Regions from separate parts of the Homo sapiens genome. Here regions 2 and 3 are each linked to region 1. The links are contacts of gene promoters, found by promoter capture Hi-C in human tissues and cell types (Jung and others, 2019). All regions are on one chromosome and are shown on one strand. The core of a region is centred on a gene start or on the middle of the fragment in contact, and the rest is flanking DNA. Distances in the headings are between cores, read along the strand shown.

Region 1 (5,052 bases), core at 1,857-4,356:
GTAGTGCACATTTGTAATCCCAGCTACTCAGGAGCCTGAGGCAGGAGAATCACTTGAACCCAGGAGGCAGAGCTTGCAGTGAACTAAGATCACACCACTGCACTCCAGCCTGGACAACAGAGCAAGACACTGTCTCCCAAAGAAAAGAAAAGAAAAAGAGTCCAATTCGGGGCTTTATCCCCAGGATTTAAAACAGTGGATGCCACATAATGAACCTTCAATAAATAATCATTCAGATGAATGAGTGAATGAGTGAATGACTTTGTGAGGGAGCATCAGCCTCTGTGGAGGGTCAGTGTGAAAGGTTATGAGTGCGGGGAGAGGAGGCAGACAAGGGATATGGGGAACATATCCTAGGGACATCAGAGGGTTGCAAATCTGAGGGATTTGCGCATCTCAGGAGACAAGGAGGTTGCAAGACCTGAGCTATGAAAACTTTTAGTTTGTCTTTGGCTCTGGTAAACTCAGGAAATGCCCGGGAAGGTGAATGAAAGCCATGTGGGGTCCAGCTCCAGCTGGCGGCTCACCCTGTCTCCCCCCACAACCACATTCACAAGGGGAGCCAGCAGAGGGCCAGAGGCAGGGAGCTGAACCCCTCCAGCAGTCCGGGAGGTCTGGCAAGGTACCCTCTGGGCAGGCAGCTCCCAGGGCCAGGAGCCTCATCTGTCCTGGGAGCTCCAGCAAGGCAGGACTCTAGAGAAGGGAACCAGGACAAATTGTTTTTAAAAGATAACCAATTAAAAAAAAATTTATAATATACATATATATGTGTGGGTGTGTCTGTGTGTATGTATATACACACAGACACACAGACACACACAGACACACACACACACACACACACACACATATATATATATATATATATTTTTTTTTTTTTTTGGAGACAAAGTCTCACTCTGTCACCCAGTCTGGAGTGCAATGGCACGATCTCGGCTCACTGCAACCTCCACCTCCCGGGTTCAAGCAATTCTCTGCCTCAGCCTCCCTAGTAGCTGAGATTACAGGCACATGCCACCATGCCTGGCTAATTTTTTTGTATTTTTAGTAGAGCTGGGGTTTCACCATCTTGCCAGGTTGGTCTTGAACTCCTGACCTCGTGATCCACCCACCTAAGCCTCCCAAAGTGCTGAGATTACAGGCGTGAGCCACCGTGCCCAGCCTAATATATATTTTTAATAGAGACGAGATCTCACTATGTTGCCCAGGCTGGCCTCGAACTCCTGAGTTCAAGCGATCCTCCCGATTCAGCCTCCCACAGTGCTGGGATTATAGGCATGAGCCACCATGCCTGGCCTCAATTATTTTCTGATTTATCTTTGGGAGGAGACCATTCTTTCGCTTAAGAAGAAAAAGAAAAAAACAATTTTAAGTCTCTTTAATGGGCCTTACAGTTATGCAAAGATATGCCACTATCCCTTTGGGAGTGAGGGTGGAAAGAACTAGACTTGCCTGCGTAACAATGAGAAAGGAAGTTGCTTCTTAAGACAGGGTCTACACTAGCTAGAGGGGACAACCAGGACCTGAGCCTCAGACAGGGTCTCGCTCCATAGCCTGTTGCCCAGGCTACAGTGCAGTGGAGCGATCACGGCTCACTGCTGCCTCGACTTCCTGGGCTCAAGCAATCCTCTGGCCTCAGCCTCCCAAGTAGCTGGGACCACAGGTGCACCCAGCCCATTTCCCTTCCTCTCAAGGTGCCTTAAGAGAAGGAGAAGGCTTGAGATTCAGGTGAGGGATGGGCAGAGATCAGAGGCTGCCTGGCCTCCTGGTTTGGCCACAGTCTAGATGCTCAGGAGAGAAGTGCTTACAGGTGAGGCAAACATGAGCCAGGTGGGCACGGAGCTATCTGGGAGCACCTACTGTATGCCAGACACTTGAACTCTAATGGTGAGGTCTGAGGACACAGTTCCTCTACTGAAAAATAGAGACAGGGCAACTATGTTGCCAGGGCTGGCCTCACACTCCTGAATTCAAGCTGTCCTCCTACCTCAGTCTCCTAGTAACTAGAACTACAGGCACCCGTCATTGTGCCCGGCCATTCCACAGCTATTTACATAATTAACTGTTCAGTTACAATTCTGGCAAGCGTGCTGAAGAAATAACAGGTCCTAAATAATTACAGCTAGTATTACAAAGCAAGCGCTGCATGCCAGGCTTACACATACTGCTAACATGTCTACTTTTTGCAACAACCTCTTGTGGGTGAGACTATCATTTGCCTGTTTTACTGAAAGGACAGTGAAGACTGAGGCCTTGTGTGATGGTGCTGAGAGCTGGGCCTATGACGTCCAGCCCTGTAGTCTGTGCTCTGAACCACTTCACCCTGTTTCTTTCTCCATCCTCACAGTAGAGACGTCATCTAAGAGGAGCTTGCAAGTCCAGAGGGCTTCCTGAAGGAAGTGAGCTGAGAATAATATGAAATTAACCAGACCAAGGGCCATTCCAGGAAGAGAGAATGGTACGTGAAACTGCCCAGGAGTAGCAGGGTGGGAGCCAGGAGGCGTGGGTCATGGCAATCTATGTATAAAGAGCTATGGGAATCTATAGGAAAATTTAAGGGAGTGGCTGACACAGTCAGATTTGTGTTGTAAGTATCACTCCGCAGGTTGCGCAGGGAACAAATGAGGGAGCAGAAGGAAGGGGTTCTCCTATCCGCTGCACGGCACTGCGCAGAAGACAGGGGAGCCAGGCATTCCCTGAAGGGTGAAAAGCAAGGAGTAGAGCTGGGTAGTAGACTAGAATTTAGGAGCCTGGCCTGGGGCCTGGGTGGGGCGAAAGAGGCGGAGCCTGAATGGGGTGTGTATAGGGGGGTTGCGTGTAGGGGTGTGTGTATAGGCTGGGGCGGGGTCCCGGGAGTGGGCTGACTGGGTCGGGGGCGGGGCTCTCCAGGTGGGCGGGGATCTTGGCCACCCCTGGCCACACCTCTCTCCGGCTCGAGCTGGTCTAGGCGGGGCGGGCCCGAGGGGGTGTGGCAGGAGGTGGGCGGGCCCGGGTGGGGGGGGGGGGGGCGTGGAAGGAGGGGCGGGCCCGAGCAGGAGGGGGCGGGCCCGAGGGGCGGGGTGGGACAGGAGGTGGGCCGCTCGCGGCCACGCCGCCGTCGCGGGTACATTCCTCGCTCCCGGCCGAGGAGCGCTCGGGCTGTCTGCGGACCCTGCCGCGTGCAGGGGTCGCGGCCGGCTGGAGCTGGGAGTGAGGCGGCGGAGGAGCCAGGTGAGGAGGAGCCAGGTGAGCAGGACCCTGTGCTGGGCGCGGAGTCACGCAGGCTCGAGGTGAGCCGGAACCCTTGTGGGCCCGGGCTGCGCTCCCAGCCGCCAGGGGGCGAGAGGCGGCGGGGCTACGGGGACTGCCCCTCCCGGCGCAGGGGACCTGGGCGTCCGCCGGGCGGCAGGGGGTGGAGGGGGCGGTAAATCAGTAACCCGCAGTGCACACAGGGCCTTTTGTCCCGCTCCGTCCAAAGAGCACCCCGGCCGCGGAGCTGGTTACTCATTGCCCACCGAGGCGGGGGCAGGCTGGCCCTGTGCAGCTACCCTCGGGACCCATTGATTCGCACCTCCCCCCAGGCTGGCCCGGCAAGGGTGGGGGAGGACAAGCGCGCTTGTCCCTGCGGCTGTCTTCGCGCCGGCGGCAGAGATGAGGGACCTGAGGCCCCGAAAAGTTCAGTCACTTAGTGCCCGGGGGCCTCCAGCGCGAGTGCGGGAGGCTGAAGGAGAACCCAGGACTGTCTGATGCCTAAGGCAGGCCCTCCATTCCCACGTGGGGGGTGGTCGGTCAGCGGTCAGCAGCCATGGGTGACTCGACTAAGGACTCTGATATCAGGGCAGCCTGGGGTAGGAATAAACTCCCCGGGCCTCCCCACCCACTCCCAGCCCAAGCTGTGTACCCAAAGAGCTGCCCTCCCTGCCAAGCCGAGCTTGGTAGGGAGTTTTACCAAGGAGGATCCGACTGGATTCGAGAGTTGAGGTGGGCCAGAGACAGCAGTATCTGAGTCAGGTAGAGAAGAGCAATGAGGGGCACAGAGGGATGGGCAAGAGAGCACATGTGCCCAGTTTTGAAAGCCAATGGCTTCAGCGCTCCTGAAGGGGCAGACGGTGTGACCAAAGAGATAGGCAGCGGCAGAGAGGGAGCCCTAGGATGTTGAGCTGGATCCTGCTGGGCACAGGTAGCCATTAAGGGCTTGCAAGCTGGGGGGCATGACATGGCAGACTTGCAGGTTTTTTTGTTTGTTTTTTTATTTTATTTTATTTTTTTATTTTGTTTTTTTTGAGACGGAGTCTCACTCTGTCGCCCAGGCTGGAGTGCAGTGGCGCGATCTCGGCTCACTGCAAGCTCCGCCTCCCGGGTTCGCGCCATTCTCCTGCCTCAGCCTCCCGAGTAGCTGGGACTACAGGCGCCCGCCACCGCGCCCGGCTAATTTTTTGTATTTTTAGTAGAGACGGGGTTTCACCGTGTTAGCCAGGATGTTCTCGATCTCCTGACCTCGTGATCCGCCCACCTCGGCCTCCCAAAGTGCTGGGATTACAGGTGTGAACCATCGCGCCCAGCCGACTTGTAGTTTTTTAAAACTCTGCTGGAAGATGAAGGTTGAAGAGCCGAGGGAGAGGATGTTTCCAGAGGCCCATGCAAGAGATGGCCATGACCTGCCTTGAGAAGGGGCAGGGGAAGCCAGATGGACTGGAAGTGGAGTGGCAGTGACCAAGGAGGAGGAGGTGTGATAGGCTTCCCACGCAGGGTAGATCCAGAGACACCAGTGCCACCCATAGGCCCCTAGGACTGCAGTGGTCACCGATTCCTTTGTCCCAGCTGAGACTCAGTTCTGAGTGTTCTATTTTGGGGAACAGAGGCGTCCTTGGTAGCATTTGGAAGAGGATAGCCAGCTGGGGTGTGTGTACATCACAGCCTGACAGTAACAGCATCCGAACCAGAGGTGACTGGCTAAGGGCAGACCCAGGGCAACAGGTTAACCGTTCTAGGGCCGGGCACAGGGAGGAGAACATTCCAACACTCTGCGTGCCGACGCACGTTCTCTCTTTTATCCTCAAAACAGTCCTATGA
Region 2 (5,052 bases), core at 1,331-3,830, 200 kb after region 1:
CCTGGGCAACACAGCAAGACTCCTTCTCAAAAAAAAAAAGAAAAATTCAATGACATTGAATAGGTGTTGATAGGGCCACTTGCAATTCACTAAGCATTCGGCTGATCAATTATATAAGAGGTTTTTGGGGATATTGTTGAAGTGTTTTGGGCCATCTGACTTTAATTGGTGCTACTTTTCTAACTAATAATGCTGTGAAATAGGACCTTATAAAGAAGGTTAGTTACCTCCCTCGTCTTGATCTCACATCTCCTAATAAGCCATATAGATTCTTGGTATATCTGTGTCTGTCCCTGTCTTTCTCTCACTTTCTCTTTCTGAAGATACCAAAAAATCTGCAGTTTAAGCTTCTAAATGTAGCATAACATCATAGATAAAAGTAGAACTCTTAATCTCACCATTATAAAAAAGTATAAGCATTGTTGTGTCTTCCTGTTTTTTTAGTATGCACTTTCTGAATAATTGAATTCTAATTCTGTAACTGTTAAGTATCATTTCCATGTCTATATTCTCCTTATTTTTTTTGTTGTTGTTGTTTTGTGTTTTTTTTTTTGAGGTGGAGTCTCGCTCTGTTGCCCAGGCTGGAGTGCAGTGGCGCAATCTCGGCTCACTGCAAGCTCCGTCTCCCGGGTTCACGCCATTCTCCTGCCTCAGCCTCCTGAGTAGCTGGAACTACAGGCGCCCGCCACCATGCCCGGCTAATTTTTTATATTTTTAGTAGAAACAGGGTTTCACTGTTGTTAGCCAGGTTGGTCTCGATCTCCTGACCTCGTGATCCGCCCGCCTTAGCCTCCCAAAGTGCTGGGATTACAGGCGTGAGCCACTGTGCCCGGCCCTTATATTATTATTTTTTAAAGTCCTTGCTGATCATTTTTAGTGACTGTCTTAATTTTTTTATATAATGGATGGACATACTAGATGAACATCTGGATAATTCAAGATTTCTGTATCATAAGTAACAGCACAGTGAAAATTGCAGTTTAATTTTGATACAAAATAAACTATATAGTGACTTCAATTGAGTATGTTCCATATGCCTTTTTGATTGTGAAGCTCAACATTAAGAACTGAAAAATGCAAATTAACATAGAAGCCAATAAGAAAAGAGTAAATAAATTTTTTTTTTTTTTTTTGAGACGGAGTCTCGCTCTGTTGCCCAGGCTGAAGTGCAATGGTATGATCTCGGCTCACTGTAACCTCCGTCTCCCAGGTTCAAGTGATTCTCCTGCCTCAGCCTCCCAGGTAGCTGGGATTACAGGCCCCTGCCACCACACCTGGCTAATTTTTTGTATTTTTAGTGGAGATGGGGTTTCCCCATGTTGGCCAGGCTGGTCTCAAACTCCTGACCTCAGGTGATCCACCTGCCTCAGCCTCCCAAAGTGCTGGGATTACAGGCGTGAGCCACTGCGCCTGGCCAGAAATGAAGAGCACTCAATGATCATTTTTTAATCTTGTTAAATAAGGAGAATCACCTCTATATTATACTGGATTTTATTGTGCTTTTTGTTTAGTTTTGTTGGTTTAACGGTGTTGTTCCTTAAGATGTTGACTTGTTTCCTATAAATTAAAATAGTAACTCAGTTTAACCTGTACTTAATGGTATTAAGTGTAGTGCGGATGTCAGTTTCAGCATCCTTGATGTCTGCATGGGATAGCATTTCACAGGAGTCAGTCAGAGGTAGATGCTAGAGAGGTCACTGTGTGCTCTTAGTAGATACTGGTCTGTCAGAATAGGGTGGACCTCCATTAAGCCTTACAGATTGGTCCTGGATGTTTCTGGGTTAAAATGAAGAATGTGATAAGATGATTTGGTGACCAAGTGTGGGCTGCAGGGAACAAAGAGAGAACATCTGCTGGCTGCTCCAGGGTCTGCCTTGGGAGTGGTGGACCTGAAGCTAATTTGACTTGATGTGTAGTCTTATTGACGGCAGGGACCATGAATTAACTTTTTTGTGTCTTAACACATTGCTTATAGTAAGTTCAGTTATGCTTTGTTGAATGAACGAGAAATAGGCATGTGTACCCACACACAGAAGTCTAGTTTAGTTCTGAAAGTAGACGAATATAAAAGTGAAACTTTGGCCAGGTGCGGTGGCTCACGCCTGTAATCCTAGCACTTTAGGAGGCCAAAGCGGGTGGGTCACAAGGTCAGGAGTTCGAGACCAGCTTAACCAATATGCTGAAAACCCGTCTCTACTAAAAATACAAAAATTAGCCAGGAGTGGTGGTGGGCGCCTGTAATCCCAGCTACTCAGGAGGCTGAGGCAGGAGAATTGCTTGAACCCAGCAGGCGGAGGTTGCAGTGAGCCGAGATCGCGCCACTGCACTCCAGCCTGGGCAACACAGCAAGACTCCGTCTTGAAAAATAAATAAATTAATTAACTAATAAAACTTATGAAAGGCATGTCATTTAACACCAGCCTTATGGATCAGCAAAAACACAAAGATTTTTGTCTTCTGTTTTGTTCAGGTGGCAGGAGTAGTTGATACAAAAATTATTGCTACGTATCTGTGATGTACCAGGTACCTTTCCTGCATTTTATCTTCATGACAATCTCTTTTCCCAGAGAAGAGAATGAGGCTCAGAGAGGGTAGTTAACCCGGTTAAGATTGGTACTAATGTGTTCACAGAATGCTGACTGTTCAATATCTGACCTGTAGAATCAACCCATTGCCACGGAAGAAAAGTCAAAGAAATTCAAGAAGAAGCAACAGGGAAAGCGCAGGACCCAGGGTGAAATCACAAAGGAGCGAGAAGATGAGTGTTTTAGTTGTGGGGATGCTGGCCAGCTCGTCTCCTGCAAGAAACCAGGCTGCCCAAAAGTTTACCACGCAGACTGTCTCAATCTGACCAAGCGACCAGCAGGTTGGTGCCAAAATCCATTTGTACCGCTACTCGTTCTCTCCATCATACTCAGGGTCTCATGCCATTTGCATCAGCCTTGAAGAAAGTGCCATTTGGTCTTTCCATGCATAATTTTGAGGGGTATGGTCTATTTTCTTATTTTGGAAATAATGAAAGCAAAGGCTTAGAATTCTTAGTTATGAAGAATGGGACAGCGGTGCACTTGCTGTGTTTCAGGTCCTTTACTTACAGTCATGTTTATTTCATTCCCCCAGCAGCCCATAATGGTTGGTTTTCTTCCATAATGCATGTGAAGAAACAGAGTGAGGATTGGGGAGGTGATCTTTCACACATAGATAGAGGAGCTGGATTGAGAGCTGGGTTTTTGACTCCAAGACTATTAAATCATGTTGCCTTTCTAGAGAAAGAAAGATTGAGATAGTAAAGCCTTTAGGTGGTTCTAGTCAGTGAGAGATGGATTGCCACCCTTTTAGCACTTCCTACCTTGCTCCCCTACGCCTAGTGCAGTCTCCCCCCATGCAGAGTAGACTTTTTTCCTCTAAAGGAGATTTGGTTGTATCAGTTAATACATGAGAAAGCTGCTCAGGTGGATGTGGTACCCAGGAAATTTGTAGTTGAAGAAATTGAGAACCTTTGAGTAGTGATTTGGGGTTAGAGAATTTTAGGGATTTGGATATGCCATCTATTTTAATGAACAAAAAAGAGAAACCAGTAGGGAGCCATTCCAGGGTGAGGAGATTATACATTACTAGTGACCTGCTTCCAAGAGTTGCAGAACGTTAAGAACTTTAGGGTATAAGTAAAAGGAATTTGTCCCCAAATTGGCTTTCCTTCACTGTATATTGGCCAGGGTCATGAAATAAAAGAAACTGAGGTAGGATGAGGGCAAGGCCATCACATTGACCTGTCAGCACCAGGAAGTAGAATTGTTTCAGAATCAACTGCTCAGGGTCGTCACTGGCGCAGGCTATGATAGAACCAATCTTGCCTGTGTGCCAGGAGTGGGAGCTGGTGTAGTTGATTTGAAGGTGGAAACACTGTCCCTGGTCAAGACCCTCAGGTTTCATGAAATGTGGGGAGGCAGGTAAAAGCTTAGGTCAGCTTTGGGTCTTTTCTACTGATTCCATGTGAACAACATATAACGTGCTGTGCTGATCTCAAGACTTAAAATAGAGCAAAGGTAAATCTTCCATTTTTCATGATTTTATATCTTTTCTATTACTGTTAATAGCAAATAAGCAGGAATCTAAATCACCAGGATATTTCTCTTTGAGTTGCTTATTTAAAAGCTGTATAGTACAAATGGAGATTGCAAAAATATAAAAGTAATATCTTAAGTTTCATGTAAAAGAAACTTTTTGTTGTCCCCACCCCCGCCCCCCCCTCACCTCCTTGCTGGAAATAGTCATAGAAATACCAATTTACTCTTCTGCTTGTATATTTAGTTGATAGTAGTTGCTATTTGATAATTCGCTGTTACTTTATGTATTCTGTGCACAAAAAGAAGCTGGAATTCTGGGGCAAGAGGTGGCTGGTGAGTGGCATAAGCTCTCTGAAGCAGGGACAGTGTGAAGGAAGGTCATCATCCACACCTTCGGACTGTAGCATAGCCTTGGCCCATGTGATATGTATCTCTTTTTTCCTAAACTTTTGATTTACTTCTGTGTTTTCAGGGAAATGGGAATGTCCGTGGCATCAGTGTGACATCTGCGGGAAGGAAGCAGCCTCCTTCTGTGAGATGTGCCCCAGCTCCTTTTGTAAGCAGCATCGAGAAGGGATGCTTTTCATTTCCAAACTGGATGGGCGTCTGTCTTGTACTGAGCATGACCCCTGTGGGCCCAATCCTCTGGAACCTGGGGAGATCCGTGAGTATGTGCCTCCCCCAGTACCGCTGCCTCCAGGGCCAAGCACTCACCTGGCAGAGCAATCAACAGGAATGGCTGCTCAGGCACCCAAAATGTCAGATAAACCTCCTGCTGACACCAACCAGATGCTGTCGCTCTCCAAAAAAGCTCTGGCAGGGACTTGTCAGAGGCCATTGCTACCTGAAAGACCTCTTGAGAGAACTGACTCCAGGCCCCAGCCTTTAGATAAGGTCAGAGACCTCGCTGGGTCAGGGACCAAATCCCAATCCTTGGTTTCCAGCCAGAGGCCACTGGACAGGCCACCAGCAGTGGCAGGACCAA
Region 3 (5,052 bases), core at 2,553-5,052, 150 kb after region 1:
GTTGCAGTGAGCTGAGATCATGCTGCTGCACGCCAGCCTGGGTGACAGAGTGAGCCCCCGTCTCAAAAAATAAAGAAATGAATAAAATGAGATCCTTCTAGACAATACTCGTTGTTAATGAGACAGATGACTTTAGAGGAAACATTTTAAAAAGCTATCCCACAGAATGCCTCTTCATTCCTAGAGGACTTCCTGGTTCCTAATTGCTTCTGATGATGTTTCTTCTTACCTTATAAAATAAAACAGTATACAGTAACCTTTTAATCAAAACACAGCATCATAGATGGAGACACAAAGCCCGACATTGTTATTACTGTTTTTTTATCAGCTGATACATGTATTCTCGTGATACTACTGTGCTGCTTAGCTACCCTGAACACACATTACTTTTTCACTGTATTAATGGTATGTCATATTTTTACTGTTAAGTACTTATGTGTGAATAAGTATAAGAAAATGTTTGCCTGTCAGTAGCACATAAATTCAGAGACAGGAATGATGGTAATGCCAAACAACCACAGATATTCCACATGGTGGCTGAGATAATGACACTTTTGCTTTCTTATGGTTCACTGTACACAAACTTTGTATAATGTAGAAAATAAATATTTTGTAAAATTACCTTCAGGCTATGTGTATAGAAGATGTGTGTAATACATAAATGAGTTTGGTATTTCAATTTGGGTCCCATCCCCAAGATAACTTATTATATATATATGCAAATATTACAAAATATGAAAAATTCTAAATCACTTCTGATCCCAAGCGTTTCAGATAAGGCATACTTAGCCTGTAACTCAAGATGTATTTTACCTATTTACCTGATCTAGATGCTACATTTTTGTTAGGTATATATTAGCTTTATATGTACAGGTGTCAGTGACTATAAGACCTGGCTTTAAATTTAACCTTTTCCTTAATTTTGGATGGGCCACATATATTCTATTATTTGTGTATATAAGGTAACACAAGTCCTTTTGTCTCCCCCCAGCTCCTTTTGCATATGAGAAAACATAAGCCATTTTGTGCCTCTTGCATCTTAAGCCATAGTCTATTTTACTATGTGGTTTCCCATCTGGTTACTTTTGGGAGTATCAGATGGTCTCATAAAAACAGTGGGTTTTCCTGAAGCTTTTTGATTAATGTTGAATTTGTTTATCATCTTTTAGCTGTGCGGTCAGAGAAGAAACGCCTTAGGAAGCCAAGCAAGTGGCTTTTGGAATATACAGAAGAATATGATCAGATATTTGCTCCTAAGAAAAAACAAAAGAAGGTACAGGAGCAGGTGCACAAGGTATGTTGCAAAATTTCAGCAAACTTTCACTGGTCCTTAGGAAACTGCAATTTTATCTTCAATGTCATACTTTATCTTCATGAAACAATAATTTCCTTAACTGAGATCTTGTTTTTTATTCTCAGCTTCTAGCACAGTACTTAGGATTTAGTGGTTATTCAGGAAATATATAAATGAATCTACATATTGTATTTATTTATGTATATATTTTTCCCTCTTTGCCTTCAAAGAGTAATGACTTAGGAATATTGTTATGATTTAATCTTAAGTAAAAATATAGGCTATAAAGTGAAATATATATAGTCTGACCCTAATTTCAAAAGTAAATATATCTTATTTGTCTTATTTTTCAACTCAGTTTTTTAAAATGAAATAGAGACATCTTGACATTCTACCCCTACATAGTTTAATATGTAGTTAAAAAATGGAACATTTTCCTTTATAATCAATTTAACATATTTACATCTTATATAAGATCTGTTTATCTGACATCAACTGTCTTTCAAATTTCATCAATTATCCCCTAACCTTTACCTTTGGATTATTCATACCAGGACTCAATCTAGGACTGCTCATTGTAACTGGTTGTTATGGTTCTCAAATCACTTTGAATTCAGAACAATCCCTTTTTTCATGATCATGATCATGTCTATAAGAGAGTGACATATAAAGTCATCTACTTTCTGTATTTGTGTAATTGCTTCCTCATAGGTGTCACTTAGATTGTTTTCTCTATCTCCTGTTCTCTGTCAAATGGAAGATAGAACCTATCAGTTTGATAGATTGAAAGTTGAACATTTTTAGCTAGACTATATCAGAGATGATAATGTGGAATATATTGTACATTAGAGGGTTAAAAAATGTTTTATTCCCATCAGCCATTCCCTGACAGTTTGTTCTTTCTTTTTTAAAATTGAGACAGTGTCTTGCCCAAGCTGGAGTGCAGAGATGCACGAACACGGTTCACTGCAGCCTTGACCTCCTGGGTTTAAGCAATGTTTCCGTCTCAGCCTCCTGAGTAGTTGGGACCAAAGGTGCACACTACCACACCTGGCTAATTTTTGACAACATTTTTTTTGTAGAGGCGGTGTCCCACTATGTTGCCCTGGCTGGTCTCGAATTCCTGGGCTCCAGTGATCTTTCTGCCTCAGCCTCCCAGAGTGTTGGGATTACAGGTGTGGGCCACCATGCCCAGCTTCCCTGATGGTTTTTTGAAAACCCCAGTTGAAGATCTTTACCTATATCAATAATTTTATTAGAGGTTACAAAATGAAGACTTTCAGATTTTATTATTTTCTCTATTTTTATTAACTGATAGTCTCTTTCATTAATTGGACTCTGTTATTGTCCTGAAATACTTGAAAGGCAGAATAAGTGCTTCTTTCTTTCCCATTAATTACCAATTGTAACATTAAGGAGTTCATTAGTAGTTGTTTTAATTGGAGACATTAGAGCAGTCTCTTTCCCCTGCTTTTGAATTATTGTTGTGGACTTATCAATATTATAGCTTCAGTGTATCTCAGTCAACTTCATTTAATTTTGGTTAAAAAAATATATATATATAATGTAAATTTTATTATTTTATCTTTTTTTTTTTTTTTTTTTGAGATGGAGTCTCACTCTGTTGCCCAGGCTGGAGTGCAGTGGTGTGATCTCAGCTCACTGCAAGCTCTGCCTCTCCTGTTCACACCATTCTCCTGCCTCAGCCTCCCGAGTAGCTGGGACTACAGGTGCCCGCCACCACACCTGGCTAATTTTTTGCATTTTTAGGTAGAGACAGGGTTTCACCATGGTAGCCAGGATGGTCTTGATCTCCTGACCTCGTGATCTGCCTGCCTTGGCCTCCCAAAGTTCTGGAATTACAGGCGTGAGCCACCACGCCCAGCCTATTTTATCCATTTTTAAGTGTACAGTTCAGTAGCATGAAGCACAGTTAGATTGTTGTGCAACCATCTCCACCATCCATCTCGATAATTTTTTTCATCTTTCCAAATTAAAAATCAATACCCATTAACCAATAACTCCCTTTTCTGCTCAGCCCCTGGCAATTGCCATTCTATTTTCTGTCTCAAGAATTTTCTTATTCTAGATACCTCATATACTTGAAATCATACGATATTTGTTCTTTGTGTCTTAAGTAATTTCCCTTAGCATACATAATGTCTTCAAGGTTCATCCACTTTTTGTAGCCTTTGTCAGAATTTCATTCCTTTTAAAGTGTGTTATTCTTTTTGACACTTAAATTACAACAATTTTGGCCTGTGGACTCTATTTTTATTTTTTGTTCTTAGGTAAGTTCCCGCTGTGAAGAGGAAAGCCTTCTAGCCCGAGGTCGATCTAGTGCTCAGAACAAGCAGGTGGACGAGAATTCTTTGATTTCAACCAAAGAAGAGCCTCCAGTTCTTGAAAGGGAGGCTCCGTTTTTGGAGGGCCCCTTGGCTCAGTCAGAACTTGGAGGTGGACATGCTGAGTTGCCGCAGCTGACCTTGTCTGTGCCTGTGGCTCCGGAAGTCTCTCCACGGCCTGCCCTTGAGTCTGAGGAATTGCTAGTTAAAACGCCAGGTAAGGTGGGGTTGGGGTCTCAGTATTTGAGCAGATATGATTAGAGGAAGCAGGAGATTTTAGTATGTTTTGATGTAAAGCCAACATTGTATCTATATACAATAAACTACCCCCTTTTGTCCTGGGAAATACTTAAAATGATGGTTAATTAGATATAGTTACTAACCATGAACTGTGGCACACTATCAAGAAGATGTATTTTTAATAACTATGCTCCTTGCTCCAGTGTTGCTCTTCATGATTGTTGATCAGCCACTGTGTAAATTAACAACCAGGATAACAGGGCTTCAAGAGGAGTACTGCACATTAGTGGAATAAGCACTATGCTTCAAGTGCTGGCTCCACCAATCCTTGTGTTACTTGGGAAGTTGTTTAATCTCTGAACTTGTTTCCTCATCTATAAATGGAGATCATAATGTATTAATGTGTAATGTTATATACCTGACAACATAGTAATTACCAGTTCATTAGAAGTTAATTACCAGTTACTTCTCACTTGATCATTCTTTATATATCACCTGGGGAGAGTTGGATCTAAACATATTGTCTCTAATTCACCTTGTAACTATTGAATATTATAGTCAGTCAAGGAATGGCAAGAATCCTCTTTTCTGTACCCCTTTAAATTTTGGATATAACTTTTTTACATTATCAACAGTAGCTTTTGATGTTATTCCTTAAAGAAACGATTCCAATTGTGCTTAAACTAGTTGGGTATAATAAAAAAGATTTTTGAAAGAACAGTAAAGATAGTTATTATTTCAGTACCTACTATGTGCCAAAACTCTATTAAGTCAGCTCTTTTATATTATTCTTGAGTGATCCTATGAATTATCTTTTACCTATTGAATTTTATTTACTTAGGGGCAGAGCAGAAACTATAATCTTTGTCCATTTATGACCATGATCCAAGTTCTATTTCACTCCACTTCTCCTTATTTTATCCTCACCAACAATCAGTTGTTATAAAGGCAGTTCCGTCCTTCTGACTTCTCCCTTAGTGATTTTGTGAGTTAAAGTCACCACACACACATCCCTCACATTAGTTGGTGCTTGCATTGAAAACTGTTTACTTGTTTTGTTTACTAATATTTTATAATAAGCAAATTACCATCCTGCCTCTTCCCATAAGATGACGGGGAAAACATCAAAAACATTGAGATTCATTTTGTGTGGTATACAGATTTTTTAAAAAT

What was found. The method cuts DNA at HindIII sites, captures the fragments that hold promoters and counts their contacts. A contact is called where the count stands out against the background at its distance.
Region 2: a contact is called between a fragment that was not itself captured here and the fragment with the promoter of FGFR4 in region 1, in 1 of the 25 tissues and cell types used here (dorsolateral prefrontal cortex).
Region 3: a contact is called between a fragment that was not itself captured here and the fragment with the promoter of FGFR4 in region 1, in 1 of the 25 tissues and cell types used here (lymphoblastoid cells).

Annotation. Positions count from the first base shown.
Region 1 is chr5:177,083,809-177,088,860 of GRCh38, forward strand. FGFR4 (fibroblast growth factor receptor 4) reads left to right here and starts at 3,107. Exons shown (of 18, transcript NM_213647.3): 1 at 3,107-3,269. RefSeq lists silencers at 2,718-2,767, 3,018-3,477, a promoter at 2,988-3,207 and an enhancer at 3,173-3,623. The HindIII fragment of the contact is 26,682 bases long and covers 1-5,052 here.
Region 2 is chr5:177,289,293-177,294,344 of GRCh38, forward strand. NSD1 (nuclear receptor binding SET domain protein 1) reads left to right here. Exons shown (of 23, transcript NM_022455.5): 22 at 2,662-2,866; 23 at 4,540-5,052. Among named protein-coding and RNA genes, the nearest start is that of RAB24, 12 kb to the right of the region's middle. The HindIII fragment of the contact is 5,839 bases long and covers 1-5,052 here.
Region 3 is chr5:177,234,652-177,239,703 of GRCh38, forward strand. It overlaps NSD1 (nuclear receptor binding SET domain protein 1), which reads left to right. Exons shown (of 23, transcript NM_022455.5): 6 at 1,170-1,294; 7 at 3,586-3,856. Among named protein-coding and RNA genes, the nearest start is that of RAB24, 67 kb to the right of the region's middle. The HindIII fragment of the contact is 9,664 bases long and covers 1-5,052 here.